Linked DNA regions of Homo sapiens: all the other regions are linked to region 7. The links are contacts of gene promoters, found by promoter capture Hi-C in blood cells and fetal thymus (Javierre and others, 2016). All regions are on one chromosome and are shown on one strand. Each heading gives the region's core, a stretch centred on a gene start or on the middle of the fragment in contact. The rest is flanking DNA. Distances are from core to core; before and after follow the strand shown.

Region 1 (2,975 bases), core at 336-2,835, 1.6 Mb before region 7:
AGAACTGTCCCTTGCAGAAAAACTGGCCACCTATCTGCTTACTCTCCTTGGCTCTCTTATGAGCTATATGGTGCTACAGAACAATCGCATCTATAAAAACTCCGACAGCTGACGGAGAGGAGAATGCCCAAGGTCTGTTCTCTACCTTGGGAGCACGAAGTCAAGATGGAGAGCCCAGATGGTTAATTCAAGAATCACCAAACAATTACAGAGGCCTACTATATACAAGGTCAGAGGCAGGGACTCAGAATGCAACGACAGGGACTGGGAGTGGTGGCTTGCGCCTATAATCCCAGCACTTTGGGAGGTCATGGCCAGCAGATCACTCGAGGTCAAGAGTTTGAGACCAGCCTGGCCAAAGTGGTGAAACCCCGTCTCTACTAAAAATACAAAAATTAGCTGGGCGTGGTGGCAGGTGCCTGCAATCCCAGCTACTCGGGAGGCTGAGGCCAAAGAATCACTTGAACCTGTGAGGTGGAGGCCGCAGTGAGCCAAGATCGCACCACTGCACTCTAGCCTCGATGACAGAGCGACACTCTGACTCAAAAAGAAAAAAAAAAACAAAAAACCAGAATGCAATGACAGGAACAAAGTCCACTTAAGATGGCAAACCTTAAGGTGTTGTTAGTTTGGAAAGTGAAAGTTTAAGAACTCCATTCAATGTGAATAGTGCTCTATTATTTTTGAAAGCCCTTTTATTTTTATGTTTTTTGTTTTTGTTTTTGTTTTTGAGATGGGGTCTTGCTCTGTCGCCCTGGCTGAAGTGCAGTGGCGGGATCTTGGCTCAATGAAACCTCTGCCTCCCGGATTCAAGCTATTCTCCTGACTCACCCTCCTTAGTAGCTGGGATTACAGGTGCCCATCATCATGCCCAGCTAATTTTTGTATTTTTAGTAGAGACGGGGTTTCACCATGTTGGCCAGGCTGGTCTCGAACTCCTGACCTTAAGTGATCCACCTGCCTCAGCCTCCCAAAATGCTGGGAATACACGCACAAGTCACCATGCCCGGCCCAAAGCTCTTTTATATTACCTGATTTGACCCTCATAATAAACCTATAAAACAATAATTACTATTATATGCTTTATTATCCCTGTTGGGGCTCAAAAAGCTTACCAAATTACAAACCCAATCATGTTGGAAGGAGACCTGAAAACGCTCCCATGTCATTCAGTCAAACTTTTACAGACACCTCCATTTAAAACATTGTCTCCCAGAGAGGGGAGAGCAGGACAGAGAGGTTAAGTAAGGTCACACAGCCAATAGAGAGGAGTTGGAATTTCAGTCCAGGTTTCCCACTCCAAGACCACAGAGAAGGAGAAGCAACACAGCCAGAGTGGAGACACCCTCAAGCGAGCGCTGGGGATGGGAAACTGGTCCCTGGGGCATCAAACAGGAAACGGCTGGTGCTGGGGCCAAGCTGAAACCCAACTGTTGCCAAACTCGCAGCCCTGAGACAAGGGCTTTAAACCGATTCAGCATCCCCCAGAGCCGGGCTCAGCTTTCCAGCTGGCTTAGGCTACACTGGGCTGGGAACCTCTGTGACAAAGCTGAGGTCCAAGATCAAAGAGCAACCGAGTATGACCATTCCAAACCGAGAGACAGAGGGGAAGGCGCCATCTGTCACTCCAGGTCCAACTCTCCAAACCTACCAGTCAAGCTCCCAGCCTGTTGTCCCTTCACTCAATCTGGGGAGACCCTCCCCAGTGCAGACTGGCTCCAGGGCTAATCAGAGCTTAGTCTGAGCACCTTCCTCTTCGCTGCTCTTGTAGTTGGAAATTGGAAAGGACCCTGGAACTAGACCGTTTCCCTATGGTAACCTCCACTCTCCTTCCAGATAAACAAAAGACCCTCCAGAAAAGGTTACCAGTCCCGAATACACACTCACAGACAGTATTGACAACGTTTACACTTTTGAAGCAAATAAAGTTCCAGTGAAGCATATCAGAAAAAAAAAAAAATCAGCGGTCCAACGACGAATACTCTGAAGGCTCTCAAAGCGGACGCTAATTTCAGTGTCTGAACAAGTGCAGCCACGGGTTCTAAAACAGGCAAGCTTAAAGCGGAAGGGGCACCCAGCACCAGCCTCAAGAGCAGGCCGACTTTTAACATCTTTCCTGAAACACAACTTTACAAAAGAAGAAACGATACAGTTCATTACATTTGTTTTTACCTGCAAGAGCTTGACCTTGGAGACTAGAAAAGAACTTTAAAAATCAGGTCAAGAAAGTGACAAAGTAAACTTGTTAACTCTCAAGGATGCAAAGGAGGGCTCTAAAGGCTCTCTGCTCTCTGACACGCTCAGATGATGTCATTTTCATCAAGTTTTGCGGGTGAGTGGGAATCGGGGTGCTGCCCGCGCTCAGCTCCAGGCTCTTTGAAGGTCGCCTCACTGTCACCTCGGAGTGCCGGAGCGCGGAATCCAGGCCACGCGGCGTGGCCGACACGATGCCCTAGGGGCACTTTTCCGGGCTCCGAGGGCCTCCTGCAGGTGCGGCCGGTGCATTAGGAGGGCTGTCCCCGCAGGGTCCCGGCGCCCGGCCTCTCACGCCGCCACTATCTCACGCGGACACTCCCAGAACACCCGTGTCCTTCCCCAGCCCCTGGGCCCGAGGCGCAGGCGGCGCGGGTGAGCGGACCCCTGGCTTACCCGCAAGAGGTGCACGGAGCGCAACCCGGCAGCAGGCGCGGTGCCGGGGGGCCTCGGTGGGGGCTTCCTCCGCGTCGTTCTCGGCCCGGCCCCGGCCGCCCGGCGGCTTCGGTTCCCTCCGCTGCAGCCGGCCGGGCGGCACGGGGGCACTCGCGGGGGCTCCGCTCTGGCGCCGCCGCCTCCTGCTGCCCGCCTGCCGCTCTGGCGCTCCTGGGCTCGGAGTCCGGGGTTCCGAGACGCGGGGGTCGTCGGGGCGTTCGAGACTCTCGGGGACGCTAAGGCTGCGCTCCGGCTCTCCCGCGCGCGGCCCCACTCTGGGGGACGCC
Region 2 (3,075 bases), core at 59-2,558, 1.5 Mb before region 7:
GAGGAATTTTTGAAGTCAGTTTCTCTTTTCATGTATTAAGTAGTTGACAAATTTTCTTATAACTCCCAAATCCAAGAGGTACCATTTCTTGTATTTTGTATTTCAGGCTAAAACTGTTTGACTATTGACCGAGGGATGATATTGTCAAGTTAAGATGCTGTTAACTGAGTGTCATAAAAACAGGTTTTATGACACTCCTGTCATAATGGGGCTATTAAGTGATAGGATAATAGGCACCTTGTGAATTTTCTGTCAGTGATGGCAATGTTAGAAATCATTGTTGAGGCACAGGGTAGGGGAGGCTAGGAGGTAGACCAGAGTGGGAAAGAGGCCCAAACAACTAGTTTCTAGTTCTGGTTCTGTCACTAGGTAACTGGGATGGGGTGATGGGAGGAGGGTTCCGTTTATAAAATGGAGAATAAATTTAGTGTAGCATATACAAGAATCCATTCTTTTATTAAATATATTTTAAAAACTGCAGAAGGAAATGCTGATTTTTGTATAAGCTGTAGGACAAACATCCTTTACTTATATTAGAATGCTTTCAACATTAGTGTTATTTTGGTGGATAATTTTTCAGACATCTTTTGATAGGATGTAACTATACCTAATTTACTTAAGACGGTGTATCCACATATCCCTACATTTATAACTGTATGCTATATAATTTTTTGCTTACATGGGACCACTCCATAACCTACTTTTTTCTCTCATGGTACATTATGCATATTTTTCCATTTCCATTTCTGAGTCTTGCTCTGTCACCCAGGCTGGAGTGCAGTGGCACAATCTTGGCTCACTGCAACCTGGGTTCAAGTGTTTCTCATGCCTCAGCCTCCCAAGTAGCTGGGATTTCAGGCGCGTGCCACCATCCTCAGCTAATTTTTGTGTTTTTAGTAGAGATGGGGTTTCACCATGTTGGCTATGCTGGTCTCGAGCTCCTGGCCTCAAGCAGTTCCGCCTGCCTCGGCCTCCCAAAGTGCTGGGATTTCAGGTGTGAGCCACTGTACCTGGCTGCCTGGTCATTTTAAATGGCTGTAGAACGTATATACAATTACCTATAAAAAAGTAAACGTTTAGAATGCCTCTTGATTTGGAATATTATATGTGTTGTTACAGTAAATATCCTTTTGTGAATTTTTAAAATTTTTTTGGGTTTACTTGGTTAGTTATCTCTTTGATGTGAATTTCTCAAAATGAAATGGCTGGCCAAAGGCTAAGAGCATTTAAAAAGTTTGATACATTTCCTGCATTCTAGGAACATGTGCTGATTTACACTCCCAGCAACAATATGTTAGAAAGCTCCTTCCCTCCCACTCTCATCTACAGTGTGCCTTGTTGATCTACATTTTTGTCAGTTTGATGGATGAAAATACATTTTACTTTGTTGGCTATTTTTATTTCTCCTTTAGTGAACCATAAGAACCTTTGTGTAAAGGAATATTATATGTGGTTGCAAATTCTATTATTTGTGTTTTACTTTTGATTGAAGTAATTTTATTTAATACAGAAATTTTGAATGATTAGTCGACTATAAATTCTTTTCTTTTTTGTTTTAAAATTTCAGTCAGGCTTAATTTTCCCACTCTGGTGAGTATATCTAGAGGTATACTCTATTAGTAGTGAAACTTAATCTTTTGAAAGTGAGCCTGAGTTTTAAATACAACCTAAAGTCATTTTAATGCAAGTGAACTAGCTAGGTAATATTATTTTGATTCCTAAACAAGGTGTGAATGTATATGGTTATGAAGCTGATATTCTTTCCTCCCACCGCCGCACCCCCTCCCGGAGACGGGGTCTCACTCTGTCACCCAGGCTGGAGTGCAGTGGTGTGATCTTGGCTCACTGCAACCTCTCCCTCCCAGGCTCAAGAGATTCTTCCACCTCAGCCTCCCAAGTAGCTGGGATTATAGGTGTGGGCCCCCACACCCAACTAATTTTTGTATTTTTTGTAGAGATGGGGTTTTGCCACATTGTCCAGGCTGGCCTCAAAATCATGGACTCAAGCAATCTACCCACCTTGGCCTCCCAAAATGCTGGGATTACAGGTGTGAGCCACTACACCTGGGCTGATATTCTTATTTATTCCTGAATGAATTTCCAACAGAATAGTTCCAAAACTTAAATGTGTCAGTTAGGGTAAGTAAAATAATCTTGCCTCTGTTGTGAAATAAAGGATGACAGGATTATAGATATCTGATATATTTACTTTAGAATTTCAAATTACGCTGAGCACGGTGGCTCACGCCAGTAATCCCAGCACTTTGGGAGGCGGAGGCGGGTGGATCACGAGGTGAGGAGATCGAGACCACCCTGGATAACACGGTGAAATCCCGTCTCTACTAAAAATACAAAAAATTATCCAGGCGTGGTGGCGGACGCCTGTAGTCCCAGCCACTCGGGAGGCTGAGGCAGGAGAATGGCGTGAACCCGGGAGGCAGAGTTTGCAGTGAGCCGAGATCGCGCCACTGCACTCCAGCCTGGGTGACAGAGCCAGCCTCCGTCTCAAAAAAAAAAAAAAAAAAAAAAGAATTTCAAATTATTTATCGACTCCGTTTTTCCTAGGCTGGTTGGAGAAACCAGACTCTATGGAATTTGAACCCTGAAACTTCTAATGCTTAGTTATCAGACTGTTTCATTCTGTACCATTTAATGCTTCTGAATTGTTTCTTTTTATCTTGCTGTCTAAAAGAGGTTAATAGCATACAAAAATGAAATAATAAAATATAAAATGATTTCAAAGGTACATGTGTACCTTGTAAAATCTGCTATGTGTAATTGGGACATGTCTTGGGAATTTTTCATGGTAAATCATGTTAAAGTAGAGTTTTAACATTTATGTTTTTTAAAGATTGACTTGGACAAGGCTACTGCAGCATTCATTTTGGAAGAAAGCTTTTGCTGGAGCAGATCAGGAATCAAGCGTCGAAGATCTCAGTCTCAGGTAGTATACACTTACCTTTGTGTATGGGACATAGTTACTGGACACTTAAGCCCATTACTGTTCTAAATATACAACATCAATGACTGGAATTTCTCTGCTTTCGTAGTAGGAGAAAATCCAGCGTTTGTTTA
Region 3 (2,887 bases), core at 322-2,821, 1.5 Mb before region 7:
GAGGCGCAAGCCACTGTGCCTGACCAATAATAATGTTTTTAAAGCCACAGAGGAAATGTTAAACTGTTGGCACCACCCTATCACATAGGAATTTATCCTCAGACAAAAAACCTGACATGCTTGCCAAGATTGATGTATAAGAATGTTCTTTTCAGTGTTAACTCTGTACCAGGAAAGAGGAAAGGAAACTAGCTTTTATTCTGGACAAGGAGAGAGCACCTCTCCCTTGTCCTATTGGAGATTGTTCAGGGAGGCTGACCTAATAGTTTGGCCTGAATTTGTAAGAGAAAACTTTAAATTATAATAATCTGCAAATTCTTTGAATTGCTGAAGGTAAATATCAGGGATGGGAGACATTTGTTTAGGAAAACTCTTTAATGATGTTTGCAGATAACAGATTAGGTCAGTTTCATCTAGAGGGAAGTGATTAATAGAGATTTCAAATGCTGCCCCAGACTACATAATAGGACTTATAAATAATTTTTCCCTGAAGACAAGGAAGAAAGAGGGGGAAGTCCAAGACTGGGTAGAAGAGGTGAGAAGGGAAAATAGAAAGAGCTTCAGGCAGAGCCCTAGGTTACCTGTGAGTGTGAGGCATCACGCTTACATGTATATATATGTGTATACCTATATACATATACAAATGTATATGCAAACAGTTCTTTTAAAAGAACTATTGAAGAAAATCAGAATATATGTATTCATATGTGTATAATGCATATATGTGTATATATATGTACACATTTACATATCTGTAATGTATAGGTATATACACATATATACACATGTATACATTATAGATATTTTATATATTACATGTGTATATACACACATATAATTGTATACACACATATATAATTTTAAAATAAGCATTTAAATCATATGATGTACAGGCCGAGTGTGGTGGCTCACACCTGTAATCCCAGCATTTTGGGAGACCAAGGCAGGCAGATCACTTGAGGTCAGCAGTTGGAGACAAGCCTGACTAACATGGTAAAACTCCGTATCTACTAAAAAATACAAAAATTAGCCAGGTGTGGGTGGTGCGTGCTTGTAGTCCCAACTACTTGGGAGACTGCAGCAGGAGAATCACTTGAACCCGGGAGGTGGAGGTTGCAGTGACCCGAGATCATATCACTTCCTAGAAGTGGAATTGCTGGATTGAATGGGGATGTGCATTTGCCATTTTCATGAATACTGCCAAATTGCTCTCCCATCAGCACTGTGCAAGTGCCTGCTTTCTACTACCCTTACCATCACCATGTTTAATACTCAATTTTAAGTTGTTTTCTTTCTATGCTGCAACTTCTCTCTGTTATTGCCACACATTCAGTAAAAGTATGTGTCACAGAGTAACATGGGCTTTGGGGAATGAAGAAGGAGAAGGAAAGTACTTTTAAAGGTGCTGTTGAAGAAGATCAGAACATGCCATCCCAAAACATGCCACTTAGACATATCGACTATTTTGAACTGAAGGCAACTGAGAGACAGCTGATTTCAGGGTCATGCTTGTTAATACTTGGATGAGAGAAACAGCAGATGCAGGAAGTGTTCCCTAACCTCCTCTTTCTACCTAAAAGGAGGGCATAAATTTCCTGCCAGAAAGTTACCCTCTCTGCACCAGGAAAAAGAGAACATTCTTATCAATGGTGGTGGGGAATTGACACCAACATGAATCTGTTGAAACAAACCTTACTAAAATAATACATCTGGCTGGGTGCAGTGGCTCATACCTGTAATCCCAACACTTTAGGAGGCTGAGATGGGTTGATCACTTGAGGCTAGGAGTTCAGGACCACCCTGGTCAACATGCGGAAACCCTATCTCTACCAAAAATACAGAAATTATTCAGGTGTGGTGGCACACATGTGTAGGCCCAGCTACTCGAGAAGCTGAGGCAGGAGAATTGCTTGAACCCGGGAGGCAGAGGTTGCAGGGAGCTCAGATTATGCCACTGCACTCCAGCCTGTGTGACAGAGTGAGACTGCCCCTTAGCTCAAATCTCTTTTTCCATTGCCTCTTCATGTTTCTACATTTTATTGCTCTTTGTTAAAATGATATATAAGCCCCTGGGTCTAGTCATTTATTTGAGTCTTCCTTTCTTTTCTACGAAGGCCTCCATGTGCACATAAAATTTAGAATATTATCAAACAAAATTTGTATGCTTTTCTCCTGTTAATCTGTCTTTGGTCAGTGAAAGTCACAGGTCTCAGTCACAGAACTTATAAGAATAGAGGAAAAAAAGGTCCCCTTCTACACTGTCAAATGTGTGAGGGGAAGCAGGGTCAGATGAGACTAGCATGTGCTAGAGATAAGATGATGAGAAGGAAGCAAGACTTAAGGAATTTGTTGTGAGAAAAGACCAAAAAATATTATTTCCCTGAAAATCCAGTCTACTCTGGAGTTGCCAAGTATGTGCAATGGATGCTGGAATCATTAATATGGTTATTAAAGGAAAAAGACATCCCAGAAGGCCACAGATTTTAAGGACTCTTAGGTTGTTATTATAAGGGTGAAAATCTCCCATCCAAGAGGGAGACGGTGTCTGGCTCTTCCAGTGTATTCACTAATACACTAGTGCTGGAAGAATTATCGTGCTACTTCCCAGGTCTTCCAGAGTAAACGGGAGCATCAGTCTTGAAGCTCCCAGCCTCCAGTTTCTGTCTTTAGGAGAATCCATTCCCTGAGTTGGTAATCTGAGAGTGGAGCACGCTATATCCTAAAGAGGACTGGAGACCCCATGACATCATAGCCAGCTTTACAACCTGGAAGAGCACCATGGAAACCATCTCCTGCCTTCTAAATTTATGCCCCTGGCTAGTGGATTTTTGCCTTCTATTTCATTAATTTCTGCTTTTATCTTTGGTAATGCTTTTCTTCCGTTTCC
Region 4 (2,785 bases), core at 111-2,610, 1.5 Mb before region 7:
ACTCCAGCCTGGGTGACCAAGTGAGACTCCGACTCAAAAAAAAATGAATAAAAATTAATAATAATAATAATCCGAATAAAAAGGCTAAAAGACCACATGCAAAACACAGTGATGCAAGATGAACCTGGAGTATCTTGTAATGCCAGGAAGTAAAGACATACTAAAACAAAAACTAAACCCACAATCATGGGGTTTATGTCAAAGGGGCATGGGAGTCAACTGAAAAAGTTTCCAGTGGCCAAAGCTGGAAGAATTTGAGCAACAAAATAAATAAAGTAGTATTGGATTATAACTCAAAGTACAAAATAAATATCCATGAATCCATGTTGACATAAATACATAAATGAATAAATACATGGGGAAGAAGAAAAAAAATCTCCCATACAGAAGAATTCCAAATAAAGTATGTAGAACTCCACTTCTAACAGATGGAGCATAACTCCCACTCTGTCTGTGTGGGCTGTGCTTAGTGACTTCCTTCAAAAGAGTACAGTATGGCTTGGGCATCGTGGCTCATGCCTGTAATCCCAGCACTTTGGGAGGCCAAGGTGGGCAGATCACCTGAGGTCAGGCGTTCGAGACCAGCCTGGCCAACATGGCAAAACCCTGTCTCTGCTAAAAATACAAAAATTAGCCGGGTATGGTGGTGCACACCTGTAGTCCCAGCTACTCGGGAGGCTGAGGCAGAAGACAGGAGAATCACTTGATCCCGGGAGATGAAGGTTGCAGTGAGCTGGGATTGCGCCACTGCACTCCAGAGTGAGACTCTGTTTCAAAAACAAACAAACAAAAAAAGAGTACCTTCACAGTGGAGACAGTTGACAAACACTTCCTCAGGCAGTGAGGTGATCAAGATTGACTCAACAGTAATAAGTCATGCCAATAGTATGTTCCCTTAGTAGTATGTGATGGGAATGGCACTTTATCTCCTTTATCTCCATGCTCCTCCTCCCCAAAACCAATAGCCCCAGTCTGGTTATGAGAAAAAGATCAGACAAATACCAATTAAGTGACAGTCTAAAAATACCTGATCAGCAATTCTCAAAATTGAAAGGTCATCAGAAACTAGGAAAGTATGAAAGACTGTCAGAGGCAGAACCCAAAGAGACAAGATGATTAAATGTAATGGGGTATCCTGGATGGGATCCTGGAACAGAAAAAGGACATTCAGTAACAACTAAGTAAATATGAACAAAATGAGGACTATCATTAATAACAAGCATCAGTATATGTTCATTAATTATGACAAATGTACCATACTAATGTAAGAGGTTAATAGTAGGGGAAACTGGGCGTGGGGCATATGGAGACAATTTGTATTATCTTTTTAATTTTTCTGTGAATCTAAAATTATTCTAATATAAAAGGTTTATTTTAAAAATAGTGATAAACATTGAAACCAGTATGATTTAAAGTTTAAATAATTTGGCCAGGCATGGTGGCTCACACCTGTAATCCCAGCACTTTGGGAGGTCAAGGCTGATGGATCACTTGAGGTCAGGGGTTTGAGACCAGCCTGACCAACATGGTGAAACTCTGTCTCTACTAAAAATGTAAAAATTAGCTGGGCGTGGTGGCACATGCCTGTAGTACCAGCTACTCCAGAGGCAGAGGTGAGAGAATCACTTGAACCCGGGAGGCAGAGGCTGCAGTGAGCCAAGATCATGCCATTGCACTCCAGCCTGGGCAACAGAAGGAGACTCCATCTCAAAAAATAAAATAAAATAAAATAAAATAAAGTTTAAATAATTTGTTCCTCATAGTATAGTGGTTAAATATTTTTAAAAGAAAAAGTTTAAATAATTTGTAATATGATGAAGATAGTTAATGAATTGGTTACTAAAGAAATGTTTAAGTATAAAAAGTAAATATAATTTCAAGTTAAAATATGCTATTTCTACAAAATCTGGGAAGTCATAGGAGAAGGAAGAGGATGGAGAAACGAGGTAAATTGAGAGGTTTCACCCGGGCGTGGAGGCTCATGCTTGCAATCCCAGCACTTTGGGAGGCCAAGGCGGACAGATCACTTGAGGCCAGGAGTTCGAGACCGGCCTGGGCAACATGGCAAAACCCTGTCTCTACCAAAAATACAAAAATTAGCCAGGTGTGGTGGTGCGTACCTATAGTCCCAGCTACTCGGGAGGCCGAGATGGGAGGATCGATTGAGGCCTGGAGGTCGAGGCTACAGTGAGCTATGATTGTGCCACTGAACTCCAGCCTGGGTAACAGAGCAAGAACCTCTATAACTAACTAACTAACTAACTAACTAACTAACTAAATAAATAAATAAATAAATAAATAAATGTAGGTTTCATCCTGTGCTGTGTATAGTTTTTATGGAGAAATATAATTTTTTTAGATATTAGGTGTTAACTGAAATTGTTATAGGACACCTAAATCAATAGAGGAGAAACTGATAAAGCATAATATAGTCAAAACATGAAATATGACAAGAATAAGGCCAATGAGTTATCAATGGTTATAGTAAATATTAAAAGGTTAAATTCTCCTTTAGAAAGAGAAGGCTTGAGACCGGGAGTGGTGGATCACACCTGTAATCCCAGCATTTTGGGAGGCCGAGGCAGGTGGATCACAAGGTCAGGAGATCAAGACCATCCTGGCTATCACACTGAAACCCCATCTCTACTAAAAATACAAAACAATTAGCCGGGCATGGTGGCGGGTGCATGTAGTCCCAGCCACTTGGGAGGCTGAGGCAGGAGAATGGTGTGAACCCGGGAGATGGAGCTTGCAGTGAGCCGAGATCACGCCACTGCATTCCAGC
Region 5 (2,779 bases), core at 26-2,525, 1.6 Mb before region 7:
TTTACAGGGTCACCATGCTGGATTGATAGGTGACTATGTGATTTCTCCAGCAGCTCTCAGAAGGCAGGGGCAGAGTCCTGCCAGGTGCACAAAGGAAGGACAATGGGTGCTCACTGATGAAAGAATGGGGTGCAGGGGAAAAGCCAGAACATGGATGGGGCAAGGAATGTCTGCAGAGGGATAGGAGGACTGGCATTCAGGGAACAAGGTGATTGTACTCAGGATTTCAGATGAACAGGTAACTCCAGGAGATGACACAGTCCAGGCTATGACCAGGGCAGTGGGTGAAGCAGGGTGGAGAAGCCACCACTGGACAGGAGATGGATCAAGATGCTAGGTGAGTCATTGGAACCCAGAATGATGCAGCGGTATGTCAGGGGAAGATGATCTTGAGCCAAATCTCCCAGTCTTCAAGGAATGAGGCAGAGAGTCTGGGAGTAGAGGGAGGAAAAAGAGAAAATATCAACACATCACCTGTCCCAAAGGAATGGAGATCAGAGATCTCCTTCACCGAATGCATCTTACATGCTGTCAACAAGCAAGAGCAAGGCAGAACTTTATATATATTGCCTTATCTAATCCCCACAACCACACTACACAGTCTTATTCTAGATGAAAAAACTGTGGCTCATAGGCTAAGGACCTGCCCAAAATCACAGATTATTGATTGATTGATTGATTGAGACAGGGTCTTGCTCTGTTGATTGGGCTAGAATGCAGTGGCCCAGTCACAGCTCACTGCAGCCTCAAATTCCTGGGGTCAAGTGATCCTCCTGCCTCAGCCCCTCAATAGCTAAGACCACAGGCGTGTGCCACCACGCCTGGCTAATGTTAAATTTTTTTGTAGAGATGAGGTCTCACTACATTACCCAGGCTACCAAGATCACAGATCTTAAACATGCTGAATCCAGAATTTGAGGTTCAGGCTTCCAAACACCAAAGCCGCTCCGCCCCACCACATTCACAGAACGACAGCATAGATTGCATTATTTATGCCCCAGCAATCCCTTATCCCCACACCAGAGCTCTCTAATTGCGCCTCACACATTTCCAAGGAGGAGGGGTCACAGACTGCCAGGCTGCTGGGTAATAAGCACCGGCTGTCCTCTTGAATGGCTTACTGTACTGGCTGAGATGGGAGGCCGCGGTAATTACCCAGAGCCCATTAAAAAGCACTGGGAATGTGATGTGCTAATACTTCCAGAACAAACACATCGAAATATTGGTTTTTAAGGAAACACTGGCCTAGAATTTATATTTCTAAAAAAGCTGACTTGATCATAACTCCACAGGAAAAATTCCTTCCCACATTTCCAAACAAGCCAGTCAGTGGTTTGTTTTGTTTCAAGAGTAGGTCTCACTCTGTTGTCCACGCTGGAGTGCAGGTGGCGCAATCATGGCTCACCACAGCCTTGAACTCTCGGGCTCAAGAGATCCTCCCACCTCGGCCTCTGAGTAGCTGGAACGACAGGCACGCACCGCTATGCCTGGCAGCCAGTGTTTTAATTCCAATGGCAACATAGTTTCATTATAAGAAGAAAAGCAGCCTACCACACTTGTTTTATGGGGTTACAAAATGTTTGCTGCCAGACTGGGAGCAAAAAGAAACCCTGAGGAAATAAAAGATATGACAATAGTCTTGTTGCCAACATTAATACAAAAGACAGCCAATGGTATTCATCTGGCTCTTAATTTGTTTGATATTTATTTATTTGGATATCAATAAGACATAGAGGAAAAGCCTGAGAAGAGGCTGGAGGTTGCAAAGATGGTTTTTTTTTTTTTTTTCAGGTTGACCCACTCCGGGTGTATTTGAGCAAAATCTTGGGGCTTCCCACAGTACTTGGCAAGACACGCCTGGCTACGAACAACATGGGACAATGGGCAGCCTCGCTGCACTGCACAGAGGAAAGGAAAGAGGCCTTGCAGCCACTGCCTGGGAAGGAGCAGCACATTCTGCATTAACCAGGCATGCCTCACTCACTGCAATCCCCAAACAAGCCCAACTCTCCGTGTTGATTATTCTTACCATACTCCACCAGAAAGCAGCATGATTTTCTGTCCTCAAATACTTCAGATTCCAAGAGAACTGCACCTTCTAGAGTCTCTACTGATAACCTCAGCCACTTACCCACTTGAAGCATCAGCACACACTTAAAAAGGAAACCCGCTAAGCACTCCTGACTCAGTCTCTCCAGGCCTGCGGGTGAAGGAGCTGATTCCCCTCACTTTTCAGAAGATGGGGAAGAATTCAGACTTCACCCCATGCCCCATCCCTTCCCCGCCCCCTAACCCATGCTGTGCTCAGAGCCAGCAGCTTTGCAGGGAGGGAACTAATCTCAGATTGTTGAGGTGAGCAAGAGTGATAATGATGAGCCTTGGATCAGCTGTTTAATCTTTTTATACTCTCCCTGGTCCCTGAAATTCTGATCTTTACTCTGGGGGCATTTTATTATCCATGCCGTGAGGAAACTGGAAACGCACCTCAGACAGCCCCACTCTTAAAAGGATCATTTTGAAAACAGTAAATTTCAAATGAGGCACTGCATCCAGACACAGCCTAAGCAAATTTTACAACACATATACTGAGGAAGTACTATCAAATCACCTGAAGAATGTTCAGAAAACTATTTTTTGAGACAAGGTCTCGCTCTGTCCCCTGAGCTGGAGTACAGTAGCACAATCATGGCTCACCGTAACCTCAAATTCCTGGGCTCAAGTGATTCTCCTCCCTCAGCCCCATAGTAGCTAGGACTACAGGCGCACACCACCATGCCTG
Region 6 (2,852 bases), core at 330-2,829, 1.5 Mb before region 7:
GTTATGTTGGCCAAGAAAACGAACTCATTTAACTACTTATACCTTAGGTGAAGGATGAAGTCCTTGGTTAAAACAACAACAACATCACTTGATTTAGAGCAGGGGTTGGCAAACTTTTTTAAATAAAGGGACAAATAGTAAATATTTTAGGGTTTGTGCAGGCTGTAGAGTCAACTCTGTCATAGGCAATATATAGCAGTTTGAAAGCAGCCATAAGCAATATATAAATGAATGGGTGTGGCTATGTTCCAATTAAACTTTATTTACAAAAGCAGGCAGCACACCCAATTTGGCCTATGAGCCAGTAGTATTCATGATACTTGGATTGACTCCTGCAGTCTAGGGATTACATGGAAATATCATTCCATATTTGTTTATACTGTATTTTCACTTGTTTTCTCTTTTACTTCTCATAATTAATAAGGTCTAGGTGGGGCATATGTTTCTCTTTTGCTTCTCAAAATTTATAAGGTTTAGGTGGGGCATACCAGTCAAGACCAGTAGAGGGTCTTGACCGCAAGTTGTCCAGGTTCTTGGCATTTTGAGCAAAGAACTGGACAAAATGCCCAGCACAGCAAGGAAAGAATGAAGCAACAAAAGCATGAAAGCAGGGATTTATTGAAAACGAAAGTACACTCCACAGTGTGGGAGCCACCTGAGCAGCACTGGAGGGCAGGGATACAGATACCCGGTCCAAATACCCCCTAGAGCTTTCCCACTGGCCTCTTCACGCTCACCTCCGGTAAATCAAGTGGTGGCCTGCAATCGGTCTATTGGTTGCAGTCAGCCAATTTCATTGATTCCATTTCATTCATTCATTCATTCCATTCTCTGCAACCAGTCAGATGCTAAGGTGAAGTTACAAAGTTGCAAACCAAGACTACGCCCCAATCAGTCTGATTGGTTGTGGTCATCTGCTGCATAGAAAAGGTGGGGGATTTGCAAAGGGAATAGCCTCTGGTCCTTTTGTTACTTAGGCGTGGAAAGTTAGGGTTTTCCTTTCAATTTAGTTACAGGAAGTCAGTGTGAAACAGCCTTAGGTTCCCTGCCTCCAGACCCTGTTCTCCTGCCTCACATATATTATCCCACTGTGCAGATGTTGTTTTCCCTTGTACCAGGTTTCCATTGTAACGGAGAAAGTAAGATGGAGACACATTGGATAAAATCTAATTCATACCCTGATTTTGTTACCGTTTTTCGAAATAGCTGTTATTTTCACTTTTTTTTTTTTTTTCTGTGAAGGTTTTATGGATAGGGTATGGGGCCTCAGTCCTTCTTTGTGGCCACTTTCTTCATGGCGGGCAGGGCGTTGCTTAGCTCTTCTCTCTTCATCTTGGTGCGGACGTGTCCCCCACTCTCTTCTTGATGAACCTGAGGGCCGTTTGTCCTTGGAAACCTTGAGCAACTCCATGGCGCGCCAGCTCGTAGGGAGTAAAGCCATACATCTTTGGAATAATGTCCCGCATGAACTTGGTGTGCTTGGTCAGTTGCCCACTTTGGCGGTGGCTGGGCCAGGCTTGCTCCCATTTTTGGTAACTCTGTGGCCCTCATCGAGGCCCACGGCCACAGGGTCGCGCAGAGCCATGGCTGCTGGTCTCCAATGGCGGCAGCGGCTGAAGGGCCGACCGCACGGAATGCTGGGATATCTACCCACCCTAGAGGCACGGGCAGCCACTGTGTTTTTAAAACATCTTGTTGATGGGAACTTGAATATTGGTTTGTGAATATTTATTGATTTTTGAGTTGGAGTCTCTCCTTGTCGCCCTGGTTGGAGTGCAGTGGTGCGATCTCGGCTCACTGCAGCCTCCGCCTCCCGGGTTCAAGCGATTCCCCTGCCTCAGCCTCCCGCGTAGCTGGGATTACAGGCGCGCATCACAACACCTGGCCAATTTTTGTATTTTTAGTAGAGACAGGGTTCACCATGTTGGCCAGGCTGGTCTCAAACTCCTGACCTCAGGTGATCCCCCTGCCTCGGCCTCCCAAAGTGCTGGGATTACAGGCGTGAGCCACTGCGCCGGCTGTGAAGTTTTATTTATTTGCCCCGTAGTTTCGTTCATCCTGCAAAAATATCAGCATTAGTATTTAACATTTGTAAGTGAATTTTCTGAATTTGTCGATTTGCTAGATTTTTTACACATATAATATCCTAGGCTAATTATCCTAGGCTAATTAATTATGCAACTAACTTGCATTTATCAATGTCATTTTTGTTTACTTCTTAGGAGCTAGAGATGCTGTTATTCTATTGTATGTGAGAAGTCGGCCCAGAGATGGAAAACTTTATTCTGTATGAGGAGATCGGAAGAGGAAGCAAGACTGTTGTCTATAAAGGGCGACGGAAGGGAACAATCAATTTTGTAGCCATTCTTTGTACTGATAAGTGCAAAAGGCCTGAAATAACCAACTGGGTAAGTCAGTGTATTTCCATTGGCATGGGGAAAGAGAGAGCTACAATAGGTAGAAGGGGGTAGCATTTTCACAGTAGTCATTGAATTTGATATATCAAATGCCACATTTTCAGTCTGGAATGGATGACCTTCATCTGTTCAGTGCCACCAGTCCTGAATAATGAGTAATAAACATATCCAAGTAATGACTAACTTAATTTTCTTTTTTGTTTCTTTTTTTTGGGGGTGGGTATAAATTGGGGAAACTATACTCTTTTTTTTTCTTTCCCTTAGAAACAGGGTCTCTCTCTGTTGCCCAGACTGGAGTGCACTGGGCTCACTATAGCCTCAACTTCCTGGGCTCAGATGATCCTCCCACCTCAGTCTCCAGAGTAGCTGGGACTACAGGCACATACCACCACGCCTGGCTAATTTTTTGTATTTTTCTTTTTTTTTTTTTTTTTT
Region 7 (2,730 bases), core at 231-2,730:
GTTATCACAATTGCAATTGTTTGACTTGTTTTGCTGCCCACGTAGGTGTTGTTTCGTTCCAGTTAGAATAAGTTCCATGAGGGCAGGACCTTTGCTGTCTTTTCTGTTTTATTTTCTCACCTTAGTCTGGTAAGGGGCTCAATAAATAGGTAGTGAATGAATCAGTCTTTAGGTCTTGTTGTCTTGCTTTATAATTTACAAAGCAAAAGATATGAATGAAGAAGAATGTTCATTTTAGCATTTTTTTTGCTACTATCTCCAAACTGGAAATTACCCAAAGGCCCATAAACAAGAGACTGGATAAATTGTGATAACAATCTATAGCAACGGAGTCTACAGCAACTACATGGAACAATGCGGATGAATTTCATAAATAACACTAACAAATAAGCTGACACAATATATCCTGTATGCTTTTATTTATATCAAATTCAAAACAGGCAAAACTAATCTACAGTTCTTATAAGTAATGATCATATTTACCTTTGGTGCAGGCAGCAGTGGCTAAAGGGGAAAAGGGGAGCTTCTGAGCTGCTGGCCATGTTGTTTCTTCATCTGGTGTTAACTACGGGAGTGTGTTATTATTTTTGTTTTAAATTTTTTTAGAGACGGGTCTTGCTATGTTGCCCAGGCTGATCTGGTACTCCTGGCCTCAAGCCATTCTCCTGCCTAAGCCTCCCGAGTAGCTGGGATTAGGGGCACGGGCCACCCCGCCTGGCTGAAGTGTTTGCTTGTGAAAATTCAGAGCCCTATCCATATGGTTTATGCGTTTTCTCACCAAATGTATGTTAACCTAAAAAGTTTTTTTTTAATGCAGTTTCCTGGCTGTACAACCAGAGAACTTTATTTGCAGGTCTGGTGAGGGGCAAGAATCTGCATATAAAAACAAGCTCTCAAACACACTTTGAACTTCCCCGAACACAATTTGAGAAACACTTTGGGACTCCCCCTACAGTTACAGAATTATTTTCTAAAGTACATTATCTTGTTATATCACTCCTGTTTAAAGTTGATTTTTATCCCCTATCTTACAGGATATAGTCCAAACTCCCTAGTCTGGCATTCAAGGCACTCCAAAATCTTACTCCCAAACACCTTCCTAGCTTTTTTCTCCGACCATTCTGCGTCTCTCATTCCTATTTCCCGCAGCATTTCATGCAGCTTGAGCCCCCTGTTTCCTAAAATGTGCTCCCCACAAGCATCTCGAGATCCCCATCCCAGGCAGCCCCAGGCAGTTTTTAAGTTTCTACCAAGCTCCACTATACTGGCAAGGCAACTTTCCCCAAGCAAGTCTTGTTTCCTTCGGAAGGTCGCAGGCGCCCAGGAATGAACAGGATAACTGCTAGTGGCTCCAGATGTCAGAAAACAGATGACCAGATCGAGCACGCGCAGATCTCTGGTTGGTCGGCTGTGTGCCTCCGGAAGGCCCGCCCTGCTCGTCCAATCACGGAGAGGGAGGGCACGTTGAGAGTGATGCCAGGAATCAAGATGGCCGCCTGGGACCGCTCTCAGCCCCTTCGGCCTCTACCTGAAGAGCCACGCCCCGTCTGCTACACCCAACTGATTGGTTCCTCAATCACAGAGAGGAAAGGCAACATGAGGATGACGTCAGTTACAAATATGGCGTTTTGGACGGGCTCGATAGTTTGCTTGGCCTCTACTCAAGGTGCGTCCGGACGTCCAATCACCAAGGGGCGCAGTCGGCTCTTAAATGTGGAGGCAGGGGCCTAGACACTCAGGCTTAGGGGATGTCAGCTGGTACTGTGTACGAGCTGTCCTGTAAACCGTCGCCCGTCCCCTGAAGCCGCGCCCCTCTTCTCTTGCTTGTTGCAAGGGACGGATGTGAAGGGCTGGGCGGGCGTCGAGCTTTGGGTTCTTGCAGTGGGTCATAGACCTGAGGGCACTAGTCCCGCGGCCCAGATGGGGGATGCGAGGGACAGTAGGAGCACGTCCACTTGTCCCACAGTCTCTGCGGTGTCACGAGGCCAGGACTGCCTGCCTGTAACCAGATTGGCCCCTGTATTTGTCAGCTTCAGCTGACTAGATATGTCTCAGTTTTGTTTGTTCAGACACTGGCGATGGGGGCGTCAGTTTAGCAGACAAAATATTTACCTGTAGCCCCAAAGAAAAAGAAACATAAGTCAGTACAAGAATCAAACCAAAAGCTGTGCAGAACCCTGACTTTCTTTCTTGTTCTTAATAACTAACCTTCCAGAGAAGTGACCTAACCCTAGTTATGACCAAATTGACATGGTAGCCATGTGCATAACTACCTGGCAACGTGGACAGGTGCATTTGTATTTAGGAGTGAAAAAATGTTTGTTGTATCAGTTTTTGAAATTTGCAATCTTAGGAACCCTGAAGCTGAGCAAGACTGTTCAAGCCCAGTCAGCCTAAGACCACCAGGGACAAACCTGTAGTCAGCAAAACCAGGTCTATCGATCTTTTTTAATGAGGGAGATTGCACACCAGAGACACCATGGGACATTTTACCAGGGGAAGGAAAATATAAAGTTACAGGATTTTGAGGAAGTGTAAAGTTTAGATGGAACTTAAATGAAGCAGGGTTTTAATAGCCTCAAAACAAAGCAGGACTGTGAAAAAGGGTCAACATCAGGCCTAGACTGCAGAGTGGACCCATTGTCCTGTTTTTTTGAAAACCTTTTCTGAAGCTTTGCAACTGGCTGCTTGTAAATTGAAGCTGTATCTCTGTGTTAAAGTGACTTAGGT

What was found. Contacts are between HindIII fragments. The CHiCAGO score rates a contact against its expected background, and 5 or more counts as called.
Region 1: a fragment that was not itself captured here is called in contact with the fragment with the promoter of ENTPD3-AS1 in region 7 in 13 of 17 cell types (non-activated CD4 T cells, naive CD8 T cells, activated CD4 T cells and 10 more); the score reaches 21.4 in non-activated CD4 T cells.
Region 2: a fragment that was not itself captured here is called in contact with the fragment with the promoter of ENTPD3-AS1 in region 7 in 4 of 17 cell types (monocytes, total CD4 T cells, non-activated CD4 T cells and 1 more); the score reaches 8.9 in monocytes.
Region 3: a contact is called between a fragment that was not itself captured here and the fragment with the promoter of ENTPD3-AS1 in region 7, in 1 of 17 cell types (neutrophils). The highest score is 6.5, in neutrophils.
Region 4: a contact is called between a fragment that was not itself captured here and the fragment with the promoter of ENTPD3-AS1 in region 7, in 1 of 17 cell types (monocytes). The highest score is 5.3, in monocytes.
Region 5: a fragment that was not itself captured here is called in contact with the fragment with the promoter of ENTPD3-AS1 in region 7 in 2 of 17 cell types (naive B cells and naive CD8 T cells); the score reaches 5.8 in naive B cells.
Region 6: a contact is called between a fragment that was not itself captured here and the fragment with the promoter of ENTPD3-AS1 in region 7, in 8 of 17 cell types (naive CD8 T cells, non-activated CD4 T cells, activated CD4 T cells and 5 more). The highest score is 16.4, in naive CD8 T cells.

What each region holds. Positions count from the first base shown.
Region 1 is chr3:42,013,792-42,016,766 of GRCh38, reverse strand. It overlaps a transcript of TRAK1 not described here. Among named protein-coding and RNA genes, the nearest start is that of ULK4, 53 kb to the right of the region's middle. RefSeq lists enhancers at 1,431-1,932, 2,326-2,465 and silencers at 2,656-2,725, 2,786-2,945. The HindIII fragment of the contact is 945 bases long and covers 1,113-2,057 here.
Region 2 is chr3:41,912,676-41,915,750 of GRCh38, reverse strand. ULK4 (unc-51 like kinase 4) reads left to right here. Exons shown (of 37, transcript NM_017886.4): 9 at 2,852-2,944. Among named protein-coding and RNA genes, the nearest start is that of ULK4, 48 kb to the left of the region's middle. The HindIII fragment of the contact is 3,179 bases long and covers 1-2,897 here.
Region 3 is chr3:41,972,842-41,975,728 of GRCh38, reverse strand. No RefSeq gene overlaps it. Among named protein-coding and RNA genes, the nearest start is that of ULK4, 12 kb to the right of the region's middle. The HindIII fragment of the contact is 3,700 bases long and covers 1-2,887 here.
Region 4 is chr3:41,993,026-41,995,810 of GRCh38, reverse strand. No RefSeq gene overlaps it. Among named protein-coding and RNA genes, the nearest start is that of ULK4, 32 kb to the right of the region's middle. The HindIII fragment of the contact is 8,427 bases long and covers 1-2,785 here.
Region 5 is chr3:42,031,490-42,034,268 of GRCh38, reverse strand. It overlaps a transcript of TRAK1 not described here. Among named protein-coding and RNA genes, the nearest start is that of TRAK1, 58 kb to the left of the region's middle. The HindIII fragment of the contact is 8,766 bases long and covers 1-2,779 here.
Region 6 is chr3:41,954,178-41,957,029 of GRCh38, reverse strand. ULK4 (unc-51 like kinase 4) reads left to right here. Exons shown (of 37, transcript NM_017886.4): 2 at 2,223-2,408. The coding sequence starts at 2,271. It also overlaps the pseudogene RPL36P20. Among named protein-coding and RNA genes, the nearest start is that of ULK4, 6.5 kb to the left of the region's middle. The HindIII fragment of the contact is 6,668 bases long and covers 1-2,852 here.
Region 7 is chr3:40,452,058-40,454,787 of GRCh38, reverse strand. It overlaps ENTPD3-AS1 (ENTPD3, EIF1B and MYRIP antisense RNA 1), which reads left to right and starts at 1,480. Exons shown (of 4, transcript NR_040100.1): 1 at 1,480-1,666. RefSeq lists enhancers at 1,587-1,656, 1,677-1,746. The HindIII fragment of the contact is 7,917 bases long and covers 1-2,674 here.